2 separate regions of the Homo sapiens genome follow, and region 2 is linked to region 1. The links are contacts of gene promoters, found by promoter capture Hi-C in human tissues and cell types (Jung and others, 2019). All regions are on one chromosome and are shown on one strand. Each heading gives the region's core, a stretch centred on a gene start or on the middle of the fragment in contact. The rest is flanking DNA. Distances are from core to core; before and after follow the strand shown.

Evidence for each region. Contacts are between HindIII fragments. The study calls those that stand out against the background at their distance.
Region 2: a fragment that was not itself captured here is called in contact with the fragment with the promoter of MARS2 in region 1 in 2 of the 25 tissues and cell types used here (H1 embryonic stem cells and aorta).

The regions. Positions count from the first base shown.
Region 1 is chr2:197,703,314-197,708,755 of GRCh38, reverse strand. MARS2 (methionyl-tRNA synthetase 2, mitochondrial) reads right to left here and starts at 3,387. Exons shown (of 1, transcript NM_138395.4): 1 at 361-3,387. The coding sequence starts at 3,350. The coding sequence ends at 1,569. RefSeq lists enhancers at 2,984-3,103, 3,144-3,193 and a silencer at 3,334-3,573. The HindIII fragment of the contact is 12,008 bases long and covers 1-5,442 here.
Region 2 is chr2:197,398,309-197,403,750 of GRCh38, reverse strand. It overlaps SF3B1 (splicing factor 3b subunit 1), which reads left to right. Exons shown (of 25, transcript NM_012433.4): 12 at 1-166; 13 at 716-802; 14 at 925-1,195; 15 at 1,621-1,766; 16 at 1,863-2,009; 17 at 2,226-2,351; 18 at 2,815-3,036; 19 at 3,317-3,499; 20 at 3,585-3,696; 21 at 5,170-5,290. Among named protein-coding and RNA genes, the nearest start is that of SF3B1, 34 kb to the left of the region's middle. The HindIII fragment of the contact is 4,421 bases long and covers 1,006-5,426 here.

The sequences.
Region 1 (5,442 bases), core at 2,138-4,637:
CCTCATTTCGCTGATTAATAAACAGAAACTGGAACTGAATGGTGGCACCTAGAATAAATCCAGGGGAACTACCAGTACAATAGTTTAATTCATTGTGGGCCCTCTCTACTTGCTACCATACTTAGAATGTATATTCCAAGGCAAGTTCTCATTTTGAACTTTGGCCCAGCTGTCTAATCACCTATGAGACATAACTGGCTTACTATGTTGTAATCACTGTATAAATTGCTAACATCTTCTCTGTGATGTTCTCTTATGGAGCCTTAGAGAGATTCCTAAATCCAGTCTGAGATTCCTGAAGCATTGGTCAGTTCCTCCTTTCACCATCACCTTCAACGAATGCAACAGAACAGATCTGAATAAGGTACTTACGAACTTTTAAACTTTAATAACTTAAGTTAAAAGAGCAAAAGAAATAATCAGTTAAAATTACCTGAAAGTTGTGTATTAACATTTATAATAACTATTACACAATTTCTATATTGTATTAAAGATCCTGATTGACCAAAAGAAATCATGAGGTAAATTATGCACATGGATAACAAAATTAAGACTATAAGAAATATAAAGAAAACATTGCCCTTTTGAACTATTTACAAATTTTTAAATCATACCTGTAACCTAATGTTACTAAAGTTTAAAATTTTTAACATACCAAGTGCCTCAAGAGTTTTATAATTTATTATATAAACAACTTGATACATTTACTTATTCACTTATTAAACATTTAACAGAGTAAATGTCATTTTTCAGTAGTCTGAAAAAGAACGAGGATTCTGATAAGTTTGGGGGGGTTTTTTGCTTTCCATTAAAACAATAGTGGTTGCAAAGCTATCCCTTATTTTAAGAAAAGCAATAAAAATGTAAAGATCTGCAAAATTAGAAAGCAGAAAACTAATTTATTCTAAATATTCCGAATCCTCAATCTTTAGTAAGTAAATGTGTGAGATTAGAGCCATCTACCGGTTGAAGTGTGATGTTACACAACCCAACTGTTGGACTATTAACAAAGCAGGGAGACTTAGTTGTAGGAATTTAAATGGGGATACACATGGGCAAAAATCATCTGGTCTAGGACACTGGTTCAAGGGTTTAATAAAATACTCTCTTTTTATCAGGAAACCCAACATGTGTAACAAAGTAGGATCCCCCTGTAAAACCACCAGTAAGGGGCCTCCAACCCTGACCCTCAAAGAAAGGAGTCACTAATTAGCCTGAGAAGCAGAGGCCAGGCCAATGAAAAACCAGCCACGAGAGGTAGTTTGGGCAAATAACTGTGGTTTGGAAGGAGGCACAAAGAAGGAACAGCATTAGCAACACTGTCTCTTACCCATCTTTCCCCTGAAGACATCTTAGACACACAATGCACAAAGGACAGTGATCAATGGTCACAGAGAAATGAATAGGAGCAGGCACCTGAAAGGCTACAAACCTCTTTTCACAGGGACACAGCTTATGTGCTCATTTGATTCCACACTTAAGAAAATACTAGTATAACTTTCCTGAAAATAAAAAATAAAAAGATAACACATTTGCTTTTTTACCACAAGCCGGTAAGAACTGAGTTTCTAGGTCCGGTGGGCTTTCACCAGCCAAGTCCTGGACTGGTCTAGTCTTGGAAACAAAAGCCCAGTTTCAGGTCCCAGCCTCCTCCCTTCAAAAGGGCATGGATGTCCATAGAATCGAGGCAAGAAATAGAGCTCTCCAAGACTCCTCTCTGAGGCAGAGACCCCCAGCCTAGACAGCAGCTTGTCAGCTAGGCTTGGGGTGACAGGCTGCAGCAAAGTCCCAAAGACTCGCAAACATTCCAAGGCCACATGAAGCACAGTACCCAGCCAGGGAGCATCCACTGGGCTCTCCCAGTTCAGCTTCCATGGTGCATGCCTTTGGACAAAACCATTAGTTTGCCGGACACAGCTGGACACGGCCTCCAGAGCCTTATATATCCGAAAGTTATCATAGTGGTCTGCTACCTGCTTTGGCAAAGTGGCCACTGCGCTCACCAGAGCATAATCCTCTGCCTGAGCACGAACTGACGGCCCCACCAACCCTGGCTCACTAGGGAAGCAGGTAGTGCAGAAGGCTGGGTAGGTCTCAGAAGGATTTATTCTTTTGGCAGTGCATCGGTTCAAGAGACCTCCCAAGGCATCTGCCAGCTCGGAGTTCAGCAACTTAACCACCTTTTCATCATAGTAGTCACAGTCCCAGTTGGGGACGCCCTGCCGAAGGAGAAAGTAGCGGAAGCCATCCACGGTATAGCGGTTAAGGCAAGTCCTAGGATCCACCACGTTGCCCAAGCTCTTGGACATCTTTTGGCCACAGACTGTCCAGTGGGAATGGACACAGATGCGCTGTGGCGGGCTCATGCCGGCCCCTAACAGGAAGGCAGGCCAATAGATGGCATGGAATTTGAGAATGTCCTTACCTATGATATGAGAGGTGGCCGGCCACCAAGATTTGAACTCAGCATTTGGGTAGCCAATTACAGTGAGGTAGTTGACCAGGGCATCCAGCCATACATAGATGGTCTGCGAATCATCCCCGGGCACCGGAATGCCCCAGTGCAAGTGGCTACTTCTGCGAGACACGGACAGGTCGGGCAGCTCCTCGTCCAGCCACTGAAGAACTACGTGATGAAATGGTTCGGGGGTGATCGCCTGAGGGTTGCCCCGCAGCCACCGCTGGAGTGGCTTCCGGAACTGGGAAAGCCTGAAAATGTAGTTTTCTTCCTTGGTCCAGGAGACTGGATGCCCGCTCTCGAGAGATACAGGAAACGAATCCCCCGATGGGCCCGGCTGCTGGGTGACCTTGGCCTCAGGCAGGAAGCACTCGTCGGAAGCGCAATACCAACCTTCATAGACGCCCTTGTAGAGCAGACCGCGGGACTTAAGCACCCCCCAGAAGTGCTGCACAGCCACCCGGTGCCGGGCCTCCGTGGTGCGGATGAAATCTGTGCAGGAGATACCGGCCTCCTGGAAAAGCTGCTGGAACTGCTCAGAGACTCGGTCGCACAGCTCGGTCGGGGCCAGGCCCGCGGTAGCTGCTGCCTGCTGAATCTTCAGCCCGTGCTCGTCGGTACCAGTGGAGAATCGCGTGGCGGCCGTGCTGGGACCTCGGAGGCGACGGTGGCGGCATAGGGCGTCCGCCAGTAGTGCCGAGTACAGGTGCCCGATGTGCGGCGCCGCGTTCACGTAGAAAATGGGTGTAGTGAAGTAGGCGCGCACATCACAAGCATCATCGCCGGCACTGAGGGAGCCCGAACTGTAGTAGCGTGGGCCGAAGTCCTCCAGGAGAGACAGCCTACTAGCCCCCGTGCGTCCTAGCAGGCGGAGGACGGACGTTCGCAGCATGGTGCAGACCGGCCGCAAGCGGAGGAGGCGGCGTTCTGACAGCACGTGTGAGAGGCGCATGCGCAGCCGGGTCGCGCCGCAGCTTCCGGCCGGAAAGCCAATGAAACGCGGCCCCGAGCGCCGGCCCTCACCGCCCTCCCCGCCCGGCCCCGCCCCGCCCGCGCCTGCGCCGTCCGCACGCCGAAAGCCGCGGCGCCAGAGGCCGCCAATGGACGGCGGCTTGCCAGAAAAACAGCTCAGAGTTGCCGGGTTTAGGAGAGGCTATGAAAGAAGACGAACCTCTTTGCCTTCGTATAACATACTGTGTTTCCTGCTTTGGATTGTAATTTTATATTTATGAATCTGTTTCCCCCTCTAGGCTGAGCTGCTTGTAGGCAAGAGTTTTATATTCAGCCGTTTGTCTAAACCCCGTCCGTGGCTGGCATACTGCAAGACAGAGTATTGCTCTGCACATGCCCTGTCGATATCTAAAATGTCACCTAAATTTTATCTCAGAGCCTAAATCAATCTGTAAGGGAGGGAGAGAGAAAAAAGATGAAAAATCATTACCTACAGCATTTTGAGAGAAGGATAAGAACTGAGAATGGAAGAGAAGTCTTTAAACAGTTTTTGTTGAATCAACAAAAGTAGATTTGTGATCTGCCAAGTTCTTGCCAAAGTTTATTGAGATCCAGGAAAGTAGAGTGCAATATGCTGTCACTGTGCATATAAAGAATAATTTTCAAATTTATTTCTCAAAAAGTTAATTTTTTTAATGGTCTTGAAGTTCTTTTAAAATAGTGTTTCTCAAGTTTGCTTTTAGTAATGGAACCTTAGAATTTTTTTTAGGGGAGGAAACCTCAGGAGCCCAGAATTGAATTAATGTTAATCCCTAGTTCATAACACACTCTCATCTTTGATCTTTTTTTTTTAATTTAATTTAAGTAGCATATACATTTAATAATAAAATGGAGCAGCTATGAACCTACAACCCAATCTAAGAACTACAAGTGGTTTCAGAGTGTGGTCCCCAGAGCAGCAGAACTGGCAGCACCTGGAACTTCGTTCGATATGTATATTCTTAGGCCCCATCCCCCACATACTGAACCAGAAAACTCTGAGGGTAGGGCCCAGTAATTTAGATTTTAAGGTGATTCTGATGCACATTAAAGTTTGAGAAACACTGAACTAGAAAATTACCAGTGATTTAGATCTGTGTGCTCCTTTTCTTCTCGTACTGTCCTCCCTGAGGTAGTCATTGTCCTGAATTTTGTTCTTGCACATTTGTGTGATCACATACAAAGTATGTCTAAGTAACATTGTTTAATTTTGCTTGCATTTAAATATTCTAAAAAGGATATAATACTACATGTAGTCTTCAACTTGCCTTTTTATTCAACATTTTGTTGCTATATTAATCCATGTTGTTGCATGTAACTGCATTCATATGTTCTTAATACATGTTGCATGTAATTCATTCATTTTGACTGCTGTATAATAACCTTTGACTGAACACATATGGTAACTTGGATCTGATTTCTCTAGTGATATGATGAAAGGTGGACCAATCGAATTCTGTATAAGAGATATAAAAAATAACTTTGGATACTCAGTTGATGTGCTCTTATTTAATCCAGCAGTTTAAGAATGACCTACAACCATCTGGTCTTCAACAAAGTTGATAAAAACAAGCAATGGGCAAAAGACTCCCTATTCAATAAATGGTGCTTGGATAACTAGCTAGCCATATACAGATGAAACAGGACCCCCTTCCTATACCATATACAAAACTCAACTCAAAATGGATTAAAGACTTAAATGTAAAACCTAAAACTAAAAACCTTAGAAGGTAACCTGGGAAATACCATTCTGGACATAGGACCTGACAAAGATTTCATCATGAGGATGCCAAAAGCAATTGCAACAAAAACAAAAATTGACAAATGGGACCTAATTAAAGAGTTTCCGCACCACAAAATAAACTATCAACAGAGTAAGCAGACAATCTACAGAATGGGAGAAAATATTTTCAAACTATGAATCCAAGAAAGGTCTAATATCCAGAATCTATAAGGAATTTTAAAAATCAATAAGCAAAAAACCTCATTAAAAA
Region 2 (5,442 bases), core at 1,967-4,466, 300 kb after region 1:
GATTACTGATAAAGCTCGTGAATTTGGAGCTGGTCCTTTGTTTAATCAGATTCTTCCTCTGCTGATGTCTCCTACACTTGAGGATCAAGAGCGTCATTTACTTGTGAAAGTTATTGATAGGATACTGTACAAACTTGATGACTTAGTTCGTCCATATGTGCATAAGGTTTGTTCTCCTTAATAGTGTTTCTGATAGTTTAAAGTTTTAACTTTTTCAGTTAATCAATGTTAAATTTACATATTCTCCTAGACCTTTTCCTTTGCACAAGTACACACCATACATGTACAAATACAGTTTTATACAGATGTACAGATGTTAGTTTTTGTCATCTTTGCCGTAAGAGGTTCATATTATTTAATTTTTTCATTTGCTTTTATTAAAATTAGATTAGGATGAGAACATATGAGAACTAACGCCAGTTAGTATTAAGAACCAGTTTTTTCACCGATGGTAATTATGGTGCAGTATGTTCATAGGGTGTATAAGTTATTTCTTTAAAAAATATTGAATATTAGTGTGTCACTAATAGCTCTCTTAAATTTTCATCTCTGTCTGGAGTTTGAACTTGTATAATTAAAATTCTTAAACAGTTCGTCCCTTGATTAACAAAAGTCCTGATAATTCTAAATTTCTTATGTATGTTTAATTCTGTACATGAGCATTTCATCAGTAATTGATGTGAAAGTGTAGCTTCTTCTCTTTTCTCTTTTTCAGATCCTCGTGGTCATTGAACCGCTATTGATTGATGAAGATTACTATGCTAGAGTGGAAGGCCGAGAGATCATTTCTAATTTGGCAAAGGTATTTACATTTAATTTCTAGAGAAGAAAATTTATATCTGTTTATGGAATTGATTATGGAAAGAAATGGTTGAAGATTAATATTACCAACTCATGACTGTCCTTTCTTTGTTTACATTTTAGGCTGCTGGTCTGGCTACTATGATCTCTACCATGAGACCTGATATAGATAACATGGATGAGTATGTCCGTAACACAACAGCTAGAGCTTTTGCTGTTGTAGCCTCTGCCCTGGGCATTCCTTCTTTATTGCCCTTCTTAAAAGCTGTGTGCAAAAGCAAGAAGTCCTGGCAAGCGAGACACACTGGTATTAAGATTGTACAACAGATAGCTATTCTTATGGGCTGTGCCATCTTGCCACATCTTAGAAGTTTAGTTGAAATCATTGAACATGGTAAGTTGTAATGTAACTTTGTCTTTTTTTTTTTTTCTTTAGGAGACAGGGTCTTACTATGTTGCCCAGACTGGACTCAAACCTTTGGGCTCAAGTGATCCTCCTGCTCAGCCTCCTTAGTAGTTGGGACTAGAGGTACACACACAGCCTGTCCATGTTTAATAGGACAGCTGTCCTAAAATTTGGGCTACTGATTTGGGGAGATAAATGGAAAGGCATAGCTCTACAAACTATAGATTTTATGATGGGTTTGTTATATTATCTGCTGACAGGCTATGGTTCATGTTTTGCTTTTACCTAATTTTGTTTAATGTGAACATATTCTGCAGTTTGGCTGAATAGTTGATATATTGAGAGAATCTGGATGATATTGTGTAACTTAGGTAATGTTGGGGCATAGTTAAAACCTGTGTTTGGTTTTGTAGGTCTTGTGGATGAGCAGCAGAAAGTTCGGACCATCAGTGCTTTGGCCATTGCTGCCTTGGCTGAAGCAGCAACTCCTTATGGTATCGAATCTTTTGATTCTGTGTTAAAGCCTTTATGGAAGGGTATCCGCCAACACAGAGGAAAGGTAAATCCACCAATTACCTTTTGATTTATCTTCATTAAAGTTAAGGCGACATAAATCTAAATTACTAAAGTACATATATTTTTTATTTAAAAATAGGGTTTGGCTGCTTTCTTGAAGGCTATTGGGTATCTTATTCCTCTTATGGATGCAGAATATGCCAACTACTATACTAGAGAAGTGATGTTAATCCTTATTCGAGAATTCCAGTCTCCTGATGAGGAAATGAAAAAAATTGTGCTGAAGGTAATTATTCCAGATTTGTTAATGTAAACTGGATATGTTTCATGGTTCTAACAGAATTTTAAAGTGTTTTTAAAAATCAACAAAAAAAACTGTATGTTACACGAATACTGTTTGATTTGTTTTTAAATTTTATTTTTTAAAATCACGTAATCAGCAATGAGTATTCTCTTCATTTCAGGTCAGTTGATTTATTATTACTATTTCTTAACCTTTTAGGTGGTAAAACAGTGTTGTGGGACAGATGGTGTAGAAGCAAACTACATTAAAACAGAGATTCTTCCTCCCTTTTTTAAACACTTCTGGCAGCACAGGATGGCTTTGGATAGAAGAAATTACCGACAGGTAAGCTTTTATTGTAAAAGAATATTCTCAAAAGTCCTTTCAACTCATTCTTTAGTCAACTTGAATGCATGTTGTATATTATTTTTTGCCTTGATTATCTCACAGTTTATATGTGCTTGATTATGAAAGGAGATGGATTTTAGTCAGCCAGTTAACTTCCATTTTGATTTTGGATTCGAGGATTAATACTTAACTGTGAATTGATGTTTTTGTCTGGTACATTCAGTGCTTTATCTGGCTAGATGAAACATGGACACAGTTTTACCTTGAATCATGTTAACTTATACTCATTTTTCGATGTTTGGTCACTTTTCTCTTCAACTTTAATAAGTAGCAATGAATCATTCTTACCATGTTTATTAGCTAAATAAGTAGTATATTTAGAGTATTTGGTTTTCATGATGTTGCTTTATTTCCTTGGAAAAGCAGTCTAAAAGGTTTTTTGTTTTTCTGTTCTTTTTAGTTAGTTGATACTACTGTGGAGTTGGCAAACAAAGTAGGTGCAGCAGAAATTATATCCAGGATTGTGGATGATCTGAAAGATGAAGCCGAACAGTACAGAAAAATGGTGATGGAGACAATTGAGAAAATTATGGGTAATTTGGGAGCAGCAGATATTGATCATAAACTTGAAGAACAACTGATTGATGGTATTCTTTATGCTTTCCAAGAACAGACTACAGAGGTAATGAAAACTATTATGGCACATTGCTACTAACTTTAATATTTGTAGAAAAGCATATTAGTTGTCAAGCAAATTTTTCTAGAATGCAATTGAATTTGAAGTAATTTTTAAAATGCTCAGGGGGTTACCAAACGATATTATTCTACCTCAAGTTTTAAGATTTGATGTAAAAAAACAGCAACAGATGTTTGGGTGGTTAGAAAAGGTTGACTCTTAGTGTATTTCAACTGTGCAGTCATAAACCAAATGAATATGTCTTTTTTTTAAATTTATTTTTTAGGACTCAGTAATGTTGAACGGCTTTGGCACAGTGGTTAATGCTCTTGGCAAACGAGTCAAACCATACTTGCCTCAGATCTGTGGTACAGTTTTGTGGCGTTTAAATAACAAATCTGCTAAAGTTAGGCAACAGGCAGCTGACTTGATTTCTCGAACTGCTGTTGTCATGAAGACTTGTCAAGAGGTAAACTTTTGCATCAAATTCTTACTTCTTCCCCAAATAGTTTAATGTAAATAGTAACATTTTAACATTATTTGTTTTATTATAGGAAAAATTGATGGGACACTTGGGTGTTGTATTGTATGAGTATTTGGGTGAAGAGTACCCTGAAGTATTGGGCAGCATTCTTGGAGCACTGAAGGCCATTGTAAATGTCATAGGTATGGAATTTGCTGGTTACATAAGACTTTTTCTTGTTTTAACTTTCTTTTTCTTTTTTTTTTCGTAAGTAAAATCTTATTTAGGAGTTGGGAGGTTTTTGTTAGCTTTTTAAAAGCACTTCAAGATTGTAGTTAAGTCGGGGGATGTCACAAAAGTCTTGTTTCCCAAAACCCATTTATATTTTACTTTAAAGAGAAAAAAAGGGTAAGTTTAGGACCTACATGAGAGGTGGGAGTAGTCACAGCTCAAAAAGCTTTGAAGTCATGGAATACAGGACCCTAGTAGAAATAGTGTGTCAGGTGAAATATATTCTGCCATGTTCTGCTGCGGGGTGAAAAGGCAATCCTAAAGTTTTAATTTAGTTTTAGAACAATATATATATATTTAAACCTTGAATTAGCGATTATGACAGGTTTTTTGCTTGTGATCAGTTTCAAGGAATATAATCAGAGAAAAGTGAACTGATCAAATTATTGTCTTTATTTACATACCCAAGTTTTAAATACTGTCCATTCAGTTTTCTAACCCGTAATACAGCTATATTACAAATGGTCTTGGATATGGAGAGCAAAGTTTTTATTCCATTAGGGCAGTATGAAGAAAACAAATGGTTTCTTATATTTAATCTTTTTTTTAAATTGATTATAACTGTTGCCAAATGTAACTCCTGCAGAGTTTAGAGGCTCTGATAACCTAGCAGAAGTCAAAATAGCTGACTGTGAGAGAGCCACTGTTTGTTTTTCCTCATTTTGTAAGAGGTATTTATGCGATACACATGTTTAAACTATTGTATTTGCATATAATCTCCAATGCAACCCTATCCTCTATACTTGAAGATAGCTACTTGCCAGAAATCATTTACATGGCCACTTGTAGGGCTCTGGTTTGCAGGGAGTTTTAAACCATATTGTTTGTCAGAGAGGCATGGGAAGAGCAATGGAGAGAGAATCAGAGCAAGTGATTCTAGTTAGAGCAAGAGCCCCTGCCAGCTGCCTCCTTTTTTCTCTCTTCGTAGGTGTAAATACCATCCAAGTATGCCCTGCATTGCAGGGAGACTGGAGATCTGTTTGTTTTGCAGTTAAAGGGTAAGGGGGCCCTTTCTGGAAATTTTTGCTTTATTTACATGTTTACCTCTGGCTTATATTGTTGTGTATGGCCGGAACATAAGCTGTCCCCATATTTAAATGTCAGTGCACAAATATATTTCAGAATCAAACAAAACTTTTTTGTTATTGAGTATCCATCATCCTTTAAATCACTTCACTGATTTCTTTCATTTCTATACATAATCAAAAATTGTTAATAAAAGTTAAAAACGATTCTGAGTCTGGTCAGAATCTGGGGCTTTCTCTTTCCCTAGGCAGCTGTAAGTTTATATTTATACATAGTCATATATGACATTGCTAAGTAAAAGGAAAGTGAACAAAAGTTGCAATTCAAATGTTGATAGTTTATTGACTTCTATTAAATAGGTATGCATAAGATGACTCCACCAATTAAAGATCTGCTGCCTAGACTCACCCCCATCTTAAAGAACAGACATGAAAAAGTACAAGAGAATTGTATTGATCTTGTTGGTCGTATTGCTGACAGGTAAGCAGATTACCCACACATTTTTATAAGCAGTATCAATTTTCAAATTTGGCCACTTTGTATTCAATTAGCAAAATTTCCTTAATGTCACTAATATAAGTGTAAAAGATTAGGCTATCCAGTATTAATATTTTCAGTCAAATTTCAATTTG